Linked DNA regions of Homo sapiens: all the other regions are linked to region 3. The links are contacts of gene promoters, found by promoter capture Hi-C in blood cells and fetal thymus (Javierre and others, 2016). All regions are on one chromosome and are shown on one strand. The core of a region is centred on a gene start or on the middle of the fragment in contact, and the rest is flanking DNA. Distances in the headings are between cores, read along the strand shown.

Region 1 (2,500 bases), core at 1-2,500, 630 kb before region 3:
TCAATGGCTGTAGACCAGGTGTCCGGGGATGCTTTGATTTGCCCCAGTGATCAGTAGTCATATCTGGAACAGCAGTTGCAATTGGAGTCCTGGTTAAGTTTACCAGGATTCACTGTCCTTCTTTCTCCGGGACCCCCCTGTCTTCCACACAAGCCAATTAGACGAGTGGAACGAGGCTGCAGTGGGGGTCACCACCCTGCATCTTCCAAGTCCTCGATGGCGGCACTGACCTTTGCAGTCCCTCCAGGGCTGCAGGTTGCTTTTGACTGACAATTTTCCTAGGCAGAGTTCACCCCAATGGCTTCCACCTGGCCTTTCCCAGCATAGTAGCCCCCACCCTCAGGTCAGGGAACAAATGTGGGGGCTCTGCTGGCTGCCACATACGTCTGTTTACTCACCCATCTGAGGCTAGGGAAGTGACCTCTGCACCCACCGAGGGTTGGACCTGAGCTAGAACTCCGTGAGCCCACTGACCTCCATACGCCCCTCCTCTGACTATTAGATCCGATGGGTGTTTGTGTCCCCAGGAGTGGGTGTCAGGTTAGAGTTAGAGTCCAGTAATCCCCCTGAGTCTGATGATCCCCCTTTCCACTAGCCACCCCAGCAAATGGCTGCAGGTCCCTGAGGGGAGACTGGGGAAAGAAGAATAATGTAAATTTGTAGGAGTATGGCAAGGTCCTTCCTCAGGGGCACCCAGTCCTCCTTCACTCAGGCACCAGGCAAGGGAGGCCACCCATTGCTCCAGCTCCCGTGGCACCGTGAGCCACCGGCCAAGGCCACAGGGCTCCATGGGCTGGACTGTTCCAATCACTGCCGGTGCCAGTTGCCATCTCAGCCACAGGCCCGGGGCCTCGTGGCCACCCCCACTGGGCTGTGCCCTGCCTCCTTAAAGACTGTGAGCGAGCTCCCAACTGGGACACCCCTGACCAGCTCACTCTTATTTTGTCTGCCCTGGCCCTGATGCTGGTGTTTGAGATATCAGAACTCACCTCAAACCACCCTAAGCAGAGATCACTCCGGCTGACGCAGGGGTGCGGCCCACATGTGAGGGACCCTCAGGCTGGGCAGCATTGGCTGAGCCCCCACCGCACCTTCCCTCCCACCCTGGGGTCCTCAGCCTCCGCCCAAGGCAGGGGGGACACTGCTGGCAACTGGTCACCCAGAGAGCATGGGCTGCAGGGATGGCCCTGAGTAGGACACACAGCTCCCGAGACCCCTCACTGGGGACACAGGGGGGCCCTGCAGCCAGGGTGTCAGTGTGGGGACAGCCCAGCAGACCCCAAGCCACCCACTGAGGTTGCTTCTCAGGGGAGCACCACTGGTGGGCTGTCAGCTCCTGCCTGGGCCCCGGCCTCTTGCCCCTGTCCCACCTCCCACCTGCACGGCCTCCAGCATTGCCCAAATTCACTGCCTTCACTCCCAAGTCCACAGAGGTGTCTCATCCAGGCGGGTGAACACTCGTGTGTTGGGAGGCTGGTGAAGCCTGGCATTGGGGGGCACCACCCATCTCCCTTCTTTGTCTCACTGCCTTGAAACACCCCACATCTATCACCTCTGCCCCCGAGGCTCCCCAGGTTCACCCCATGCCAGCCTCAGCCCAACAAGGCCTGTGCTTCTGACCAGCACCGCTGGGGTTCTCAGGGCATCTACCCTTTCCGCTGTAGCCCACTGTCTCTAAACATATTTCACACGTTGCTGGGGGCAGTGTGTGTGACTCACTGCTTCCCAGAGCCAGCCCAGAGCTGTTTAGTAGACATGAGGTGAGTGAATGAATGAATGAATGAATGAGTGCTGGGAGCTGTCTCAGTTAGCTCCAATCTGCCATAAGGAAGCACTGCAGGCTGGGCATGTAAACAGCAGGTGCTTATTTCTTGCAGTTCTGGAGGCTGGAAGTCCAATATCAAGGTGCTGCTGATTCCAGTCTTGGTGAGGGCTCTCTTCCTGGCTTACAGATGGCTGCCTTCTCTCTGTGTCTTCATACAGCTGTCCTTCAGTGCATGTAAGGAGAGAGAGAGAGAAGAGGGAGCTCCTAAATGTCTCTTGGTATAAGGGCACTAATCCTATGGGACCAGGGACCTTCATGTCCTCATCTGTCCCTAATTACCTCCCAGAGATCCACTTCCTAACACTATCTCATTGCGGGGCAGGGCTTCAACCTATGAATTTTGCAGGAACACGATTCTGTCCATAGCGAACACTGACACTGAACCCGCCTCCTAAAGCCTTCTCTCACCATATTCCTCATGCTGCTCAAAGATCCTCTGCAACCTTGTGCCCCTCCCAAGGGTCCCTGCACCTGTCCCAGAGAGAGGGCAGCCTGGCAATGGGCCTGGGCCCTGACGCTTGAGCATCGGGGTCTGGCCTGAAAGGGGATGGGCGTTCACTTCTAGGTTCCTGAGAGAGGCAACACTGCACCTTTAAAGGTGTCAGGAGCTCACTGCCCCAGCTGGTCATGAAACAGTCTCTTCATCAAGGGCTAAATAAAGCACGCTGACCACCA
Region 2 (3,741 bases), core at 1,213-3,712, 560 kb before region 3:
ATAAGTTTCATCTCGTATAGGAGCCTTCGGAAATGAGGACCCAGCACTTCGGGAGGCCGAGGTGGACAGACCATTTGAAGTCAGGAGTTCCGAGACCAGCCTGGCCAACATGGTGAAACCCCATCTCTACTAAAAATACAAAATTAGCCGGGCATGGTGGCATGTGCCTGCAGTCCCAGCTACCGGGGTGGCTGAGGCAGGAGACTTGCTTGAACCCGGGAGGTGGAGGTTGCAGTGAGCCGAGATCACGCCATTACACTTCAGCCAGGGTGACAGAGTGAAACTCCGTCTCAAAAAAAAAAAAAAAAAGAAAAAGAAAAGGAAAAAGAAATGAGGACCCAAGGGAAGAGGGAAACCCGTGTATTTTTATGTGGAGTTTGATGGAGAGTCATGCAGAGTGTGATTGGATTAGACAAAGTGGGTGTACTCGTCCGTTCTTGCACTGTATAAAGAATACTTGAGACTGCGTAATTCATAAAGAAAGGAGGTTTACTTGGCTTACAGTTCCCCAGGCTGTACAGAAAGCATGGTGCTGGCATCCACATGGCTTCTGGGGGCGGGCTCAGGAAACTTACAATCATGGCGGAAGGCAAAGGAGGAGCTGGCACTTCACGTGGCCGGAGCAGGAGGAAGCCCAGAGGGAGAGAGGGGAGGTGCCATATGCCTTTAAACAAGCAGGTCTCATGAGAACTCACTATCACGAGAACAGCACTGGGGGGAAATCCACCCCCATGAGCCAATCACCTCCAGCAGGCCCCACCTCCAGCATTGGGGATTACAATTCAACATGAGATTTAGGCAGGTACACAGATCCAAACCGTATCAGGGTGTGGCCTAATGGTGATACACTGGGGAGACTTGGCCTGTGGTCTTAGTCCATCGTGTGCTGTTAGAACAGAAAACCACAGACTGGCTAACTTATTGGCCCCTGGTCCTAGAGGCTGGGAGGTCCGAGATCGACAGGCCACCTCTGGCAAGGGTCTTTGTGCTGCCTTATCCCATGACAGAAGGGCAAAGAGAGGGAGAGAGAGACAGCCAGAGAGAAGGGGACCAAACTCATCCTTCTGTCAGAGCCCGCTCCCACGACAATGATGTTAGTCCATCATGATTACAGAGATGGGGGACACATTCAGACCACAGCAGCCCCCTCAACCCGCACACACTGCACATTGAGGGGAGGGCCGGGAGACTGGAAGGAAACATCAGAGTCTGGAGAAGACCACCAGGATCACCAGGGCTATGCTCTCACCCGGCACCCAGCACCGAGGGGCTCATGGGAAACAAGACGGGTCTCTCGGTGCACGAGTGCTGGGCACACATAGTCCACCGTGCATCCTGGGCTGATGATCTGGACCCTGGTCCTGTGCAGCCCTGGGGTGGGGCTCCAGGCTGAGATCAGCCACGTCTGGGGGAGGAGACAGTGTTCCCAGTCTCACCTTGCCCCACGGACTCTGACAGGGGTTGAAGAAGCAAGGAGGCTCCAAGGACTGGGGAGGGGGAGTCTGGCCGACGATCTAGGAGCATCAAGGCGCCTGCTCCCTCTCGGCGTGGCCCGGTCCTGTAGGTGGTCAGTTATGCAATGCCACTGCCTTCCTACCTCACAAGGAGGGTGGGTGGACTCAGAAGCCAGGCCCAGGCTTCCTTCTTGGCTCAGGCAAGGAACATAGGGGGCTTTGAGCTTTGCTTATTCATTTAACAACTGAACCCCTAGTCTGTGCCAGGCCCCCATTTAAATGGTCCCTGGGATACAGCAGGGTCCAGAATGGGCCCAGACCCTGCCCCCATAGCTGACCTTCTGGAGAGCCTGAGGAGTGAGGGGTGCCCTCCAGGCACGGCAGACGGGGCAGGCTCTGCATTCGGGGGCTCCAGCTGCTTTCCCACCACCCACCCACTCCACCCGAGCCCTTCTGGGTCAGCTGGGCTCCTGGCTCTGCCCGCCTGGGGTGCAAGACGCCAAGTTCCTTCCTGGACAGTGAGAGAACCATGCCAAAAAGAAATGAAAGGAAGGCAGACGGCGAGATGAGGGAGAGGGTGGGCACCCAGCCAGGGACCGCAGAGACGAGGAGGAGGCACAGAGACCCACTGTCCCCAGCCACTGCCAGTGAGGCTGGCCCAGGGCCAGGGGCTGGGCGTCCCTGGCATGCATGTGGCTCCCAGTGCCCCCACGTCCAACAGGAGTGGGGCGGCCCCCTCTTCTGCCACATCCCCATCCCACCTCCCATTCCATTCACTGGTCTCATTTTTAAGTTTTTCTCTCCCAGTTATTCAGGATTGATTTGGAGAGCAGAGCGATGGCTGCAGGTGGCTCTTCATTTTCCTTCACCTAAGAAGCAAACCATCATCCACCCCAAGCTTGTCTCTCCAGCCTGCCCCCTACATGAGGACAACCTCCCTCCTCTTCCACGGTGGCGCTGTTCCCACTGGAGGCCCAGGCTTGGCCATCCGTTCATTCTTGGAGTCCTCAAGAGATTGTCAGCTCTGCAGTGGGGAGCAGCCGCTGTCAAAGACCCTGGAACTTCCTCCCTGCTGCGTCCACCAACCCCCACTGCCCGCTGGGCACTCCCAACCTGAAACAAGCTTGCTCGCTGCAAAAGCCTCACCTCTGACCCAACTTCCCACTCCCAGGATACCCAACCTGGCCTTCCCTCTGGATACCCCTGTGGGCTCCCCTCTGCTGATGGGTTCCCCTCTCCAGCTGTGGCTTCCCTCTGCTGATGGGGTCCCCTCTCCAGCTGGGGCTCCCTCCACTGATGGGGTTCCCTCTACAGCTGTGGCTCTCTCCACTGATGGGGTCCCCTCTCCAGCTGGGGCTCCCTCCACTGATGTGGTCCCCTCTTCAGCTTGGGCTCCCTCCACTGATGGGGTCCCCTCTTCAGCTGGGGCTCCTCTCCACTGACAGGGTCTCCTTTCCATCTGGGGCTCCCTTGGCTGATGAAGTCCCTTCTCCAGGTGAGGCTGCTCTCTGCTGACAGGGTCCCCTCTCCAGCTAGGTCTCCTCTCTGTTGATAGGGTCCCCTCTCCGGGTGGGCTCCCCTCTGCTGACGGGGTCCTCTGATGGGGTCCCTACTCCAGGGGGGCTCCCCTCCATAGATGAGCTCCCCTTCCTGGGTTGGGTGACCCCTCCGCCCTATCTGTGTCTGCAGGTTGGGGCTAGGCAGTGCTGGCCAGCATCTGACAACCTCCCCTTTCTGTTCTTGGGCACTGCTCACTTATTCAGGTCTCAGCCAGGCAGCCCCTCCAATGGTAATCTTCAGAGTCCCCTTCAGCAACACAGCTTCCCCTCTGTGGCCCAGCTCATGCTGAAGTAAACAAGGCAATGTCATTAACGGCTGGTATCAGCTTGTACGGGGAACCAGTGGCCCCAGAAGCCTCTGGGGAGGCCCAGGCTGTGAGGATCAGGGGTCCGGAAGAGCCTCTAGAGCGGGAGAAAGAGGCCTCAGGGGTCCCTCCTCACAGGGGATGGTGACAACACGGTAGGGAATGGAGGGGTCAGGGCTGGGTCCAGGACACGGTGACCCTGGCCAGAAAAGGCCGGGCCTGGCTGGCACCCGCACGAAGGGAACGGAGCCAGTGTGGAAAAGCAGGCCCGCGTCCTCTTCTGCACTCCCAGCCCCTTTAAACTACACACAGCTTGTAGGAAGGGGATCAGAGGCCCCTGGGCGTCCCATGGCTATGCTGCACCTGGGGACATGAAGCCTAGGGTAGCTCAGCCAGCTCTGGTCACGGCTGACAGACAGCCTC
Region 3 (3,785 bases), core at 1-2,500:
CCTCAGGACACACCAAGGAGCAGAAGGTAGCCAGGGTCAAGCCCCAGGGCACTTCCTGGCCTCTGGGGAGGCTGCTTGGAAAAGAGGGTGTGGACCAGGCCCAGCAGATGACACGATTCATTTATTCATTCAAAGCCGGTTCCCAGCGCCTTTCACACCAGCCCCGCAGGACTGGATGAGGGTGTCCTGCCCGCCCATTCCTGGGCCTCCACCCTCCCAGCAGGAGTCTCACTGAGCCACAGCCGGATGGTAGAAAAGCAAACTGGCCAAGTGATTTATTTGCAATGGGCACAGTGATGCAAAAACAAGATATTAAGACTATAAAATATGTGACTACAAAGAACCAGCGAAATAAATACATAGATATTAGATAGTCCAATAACTTAAGGCGCCCGTGCAACGGAGCGAGGATCCGCGCGCACGGGAAGTTCTTCTGCTGCAGGGCTGGAGAGCGCCGGCCACGTCCTAGCCTCGGTCCGACTCGTCCAGCGTATGGCCCTGTGGGGAAAGGACTGGGTCAGAGAGCTGTGCCAGGGCCGGTCCGGGTCCAGCCTGAGGGGCCCCGAGACCCTGACGCGAGGGGGCCAGCGCGATTGCGGGGCGCCGGGTCCCCCAAGGAGGTGCAGCGCCCCCGCCCCGCCGTCTGGGGTTGAAGTGGTTTTTCCCAAAGGCCCCGGTCCCGGCTGTTAGGGCGCAGGGCTCGCCGGGACGCGGGCAGTCACTCACCGCGGCGGGCTCATGGCGTGCGGGGTTTGGGCTGCGGGGATGGCCTGGAGGGCTCCGAGGGCTCGGAGGGTGCGGCGGCCGCGGCAGCCACGGCGTCCTCGGCGGGTGCGGCGGGTGCGGTGCGTTCCTGGCGGCTGCGAAAGTCCTGCAGGGCGCGGCGGTTCTGGAAATCGATGAGCGCCAGCGCGATGGCCGCGTTCCAGCAGCTCTCGCCCGCGCAGCGGAAGTCGATCTCCTTGTGGTCGGTGGTGACGATGGTGAAGTACACGTACTTGCCCGTGCGCTCCACGCAGTCCACCTTGAGGATGGAGTGGAAGCGCAGCTCCTTGGGGCGCGCGCGGGGGCTGGCGGGGAACAGGCTCAGGCGGTCGGAGGTGAGCACCCCGCGCTTCTTCTTCCATAGCTGGAAGAGGCTGTCGCTGCGCTTCTCCAACTCGCCCTCGCGTAGCACCTCGTCGGGGGATTTCATGTCGTGCCGAGCGCGGGACTGGGAGCGGCAATGCGGGCGGTGACGGCGCCGGCTCTGCTCCTCGTGGCCCCGGCGCGGCCTTTATAGCTGCCCCTCCCCGCCCCGCCCCTCCCCGCCCCGCCCCGGCCCTCGGGCCACCCCGCCCGCCTGAGCCCCGCGCGCCCCGGGCCATACCCTCCCCAAGCCCAGCCGTCCGGGCCCGCACCGTCGCGTCCGCGCTCTGGTCGGTCCCCGGCCGTCCCCTCCCATCTCAGAAGCCCGCGCTCCTCTTGCCCCCCGTGCCCCAGCTGTCCGGCCCCGTGGGGTGACTCGAGGTCCCGCCCCGCCCGGGCGCTCGCCCGCACCGTCTCGCAGGCCGGCCCCGCGGAAGAATGCGCTGCAGCCAGCCCTGCCCGCGATGACTCACGCCGGGGAGCCCCGGGAAGCACCCGCGGGCCCGGGGCCGGCCCACCGTGGGGAGACAGCCGGGACCAGACCTTCACCCTCCAGGCGCCCCAAGTCCAGCCCTGCCGCTCTCGGGCTCCCGGGGCAGAAGGAGGGTCGAGGCCCCCTTCCTTACTCCCGAGCCCTGGCCGTTCCGTCCTGTTCGGGGGCCTTTCCCAGGGCCGCCCAGAGACCCTCTCCGAAAGTGGCCCTGCCCTAGCGGACCGAGCTCCTATCTTGCCACCCACGGGCTGCGCCAAGAACGACCACCTCTCTTAGCCTCGGTTTTCGCTTCTGTGAAATGGGAACAGTAACCTTTGCTGGATTAGGGAACACGTGGAAAGGGCTAGACCAGCAACCCATAGAGCTCAGAAAATGGAAGGGGAAGAGGAAGCCCGTTCTCCTCCCTGCGCCCTCGTAGTGTCCCGAACTGGGGTACGGACTGCTCCGACCGCGCCCCCACGACCCGGACCGGAGAGAGGTCCCAGGAGCTGAGGGGTTCGGGCTGGGCCGCGACGCCCGCTCTCTGGGATCAGCCTGGGGGCGAGGGTCGGCGGGGGCGGCTGAGTCATCGCTTTCCAGCTGGGCAGACGGGCGGTTTTATTTACCCTCTTCCTTTAAAGGGTTTAATAGACAGGAAGCGAAAGCCGGCTCTTCCCGGGTTCCCAGGGGTGGGGGTGGAGCCGGCCGAGAGGACCCCAGAGACCCCGGCTACTACTCCACGTCTCCCACCTTCCCGCACCCCTGCCCCCTAGCTGCGCCCTGGGGTGGTTACAGCAGGAAGTCCCAACTCTGGGGTCAGAATTGGCCTCAATGACGGGGCTCACGCAAAATGAAAACGAGAGTCCCCTGATTCAAAATGTATTTAAAATGTCAAGACAGTGGCAGCAGAGCGTAAAACCCAGACCTGGGACCAGCCCTACCTCCACCTGCCCTTCAGGGTCACTGTAAAGGATAAAGAGACGTCCGGCTCAGAGGAGCGCCCCAGACCCGGTTCTGTGAATGGCATGCAGGTAGCAGCTGCCCGGTGGTCCCACCGGTGTGGCCAGAGGACCTGGCAGTGGGCAGGGATGTGGTGTGGAGGGGCAGTGCCGGCAGAGGGCAGGGTTGGGCTGTGCCAGGGTTCTGGCCTGGGAGTGAGACACCTGCCTGGGGCCGGCGGGTCAACACTGCCCCCTACCTGACACCTGTCCTTGCAGCAGGGCTGGGATCCTGTGGTGAGGGAGCAGCAGGTAGGGTGGGTGGGTGAGGGGAGGTCAGCCTTTGGCGGGGAGAGGGGATTCGAGCATTGTTCCGGAGAGGCTGCAGGAAGGATTCGGACTCTGGTGTCCCTTCTTTTGCTTCCAGAGGGCCCTGGGCTGCCGGACAGTGGGACCTGGGCAAGAGGCACCTCTGGGCAGTGGGAGACCAGGAGAAGCGGCCGGGGGCAGAGCGCTCTGTCACTGCGCCAGCCCACAGGTGCCTGGAACACCTCCAGGCCCACCAGCCTGCCTACCCCATTGAGGGGCCAGCCAGTGGAACTTCGGCTCCAGGCAAATCCCCCGACACTCGTGGTTGCTTAAGCACCTACTGTGTGCCTGCAGGCCTGGCTGGTGCTGGGACCCCAGAGGAGGGGAGAGGAATCCCTCTAAACCCCAGGGGCACAGCAGGTACATGAGGATGGGGATAGGGGTCGGGGGTACTGGAGGCCAGGAGGACAGCTTGGAGGACTCTGTGGGGAGGGCGTGCCCTCGAAGATTCCAAGGAGACCTTGAAGGGCCAGTGGTGCCCGTATGCCACCACTGTGCCCAGCCTCCACCTAACCCAGAGAACTCCCCAAAGTGGGCACTCCAGCCCCTGTTCCACAGAAGAGGAAACTGGTTCAGGATGGAGAGGGCCTTGGGGAAGGGACAGAGAACAGGCAGGAGCAGATAAGGGGCTGAGAGAAATGAGGGGGAGGAAGAGGGTTTGGAAACCAGGTGAGGCCAGGTGAGGTGTGCTCCCCCAGCCCCGCCCAGCTCCTCTCTTTGCCTGTACCCCAGTGGCCCTCTCAAGGGAGGCTGGGAAACTCACTCCCCTGGGGGCAGGACTTACAACCCAGGGGTGATGCTCTGACAGGTGGGGCAGGAGCTGGGAGGCCAGGGGGCAGGGTGTGCAGCCGAGATTCAGAGGCCCTGCCCTCCCTAGG

What was found. The method cuts DNA at HindIII sites, captures the fragments that hold promoters and counts their contacts. A CHiCAGO score of 5 or more calls a contact.
Region 1: a contact is called between a fragment that was not itself captured here and the fragment with the promoter of PHLDA2 in region 3, in 2 of 17 cell types (naive CD4 T cells and naive CD8 T cells). The highest score is 5.7, in naive CD4 T cells.
Region 2: a fragment that was not itself captured here is called in contact with the fragment with the promoter of PHLDA2 in region 3 in 4 of 17 cell types (total CD8 T cells, non-activated CD4 T cells, naive CD8 T cells and 1 more); the score reaches 6.7 in total CD8 T cells.

What each region holds. Positions count from the first base shown.
Region 1 is chr11:2,295,934-2,298,433 of GRCh38, forward strand. It overlaps C11orf21 (chromosome 11 open reading frame 21), which reads right to left. Exons shown (of 4, transcript NM_001329958.2): 4 at 1-1,988. Among named protein-coding and RNA genes, the nearest start is that of C11orf21, 4.7 kb to the right of the region's middle. The HindIII fragment of the contact is 2,527 bases long and covers 1-2,500 here.
Region 2 is chr11:2,364,426-2,368,166 of GRCh38, forward strand. The region is part of intron 1 of CD81-AS1 (CD81 antisense RNA 1); the gene reads right to left. Among named protein-coding and RNA genes, the nearest start is that of CD81, 11 kb to the right of the region's middle. The HindIII fragment of the contact is 225 bases long and covers 2,351-2,575 here.
Region 3 is chr11:2,928,170-2,931,954 of GRCh38, forward strand. PHLDA2 (pleckstrin homology like domain family A member 2) reads right to left here and starts at 1,251. Exons shown (of 2, transcript NM_003311.4): 1 at 727-1,251; 2 at 104-498. The coding sequence starts at 1,195. The coding sequence ends at 737. RefSeq lists enhancers at 528-1,136, 1,137-1,746, 1,747-2,355. The HindIII fragment of the contact is 14,179 bases long and covers 1-3,785 here.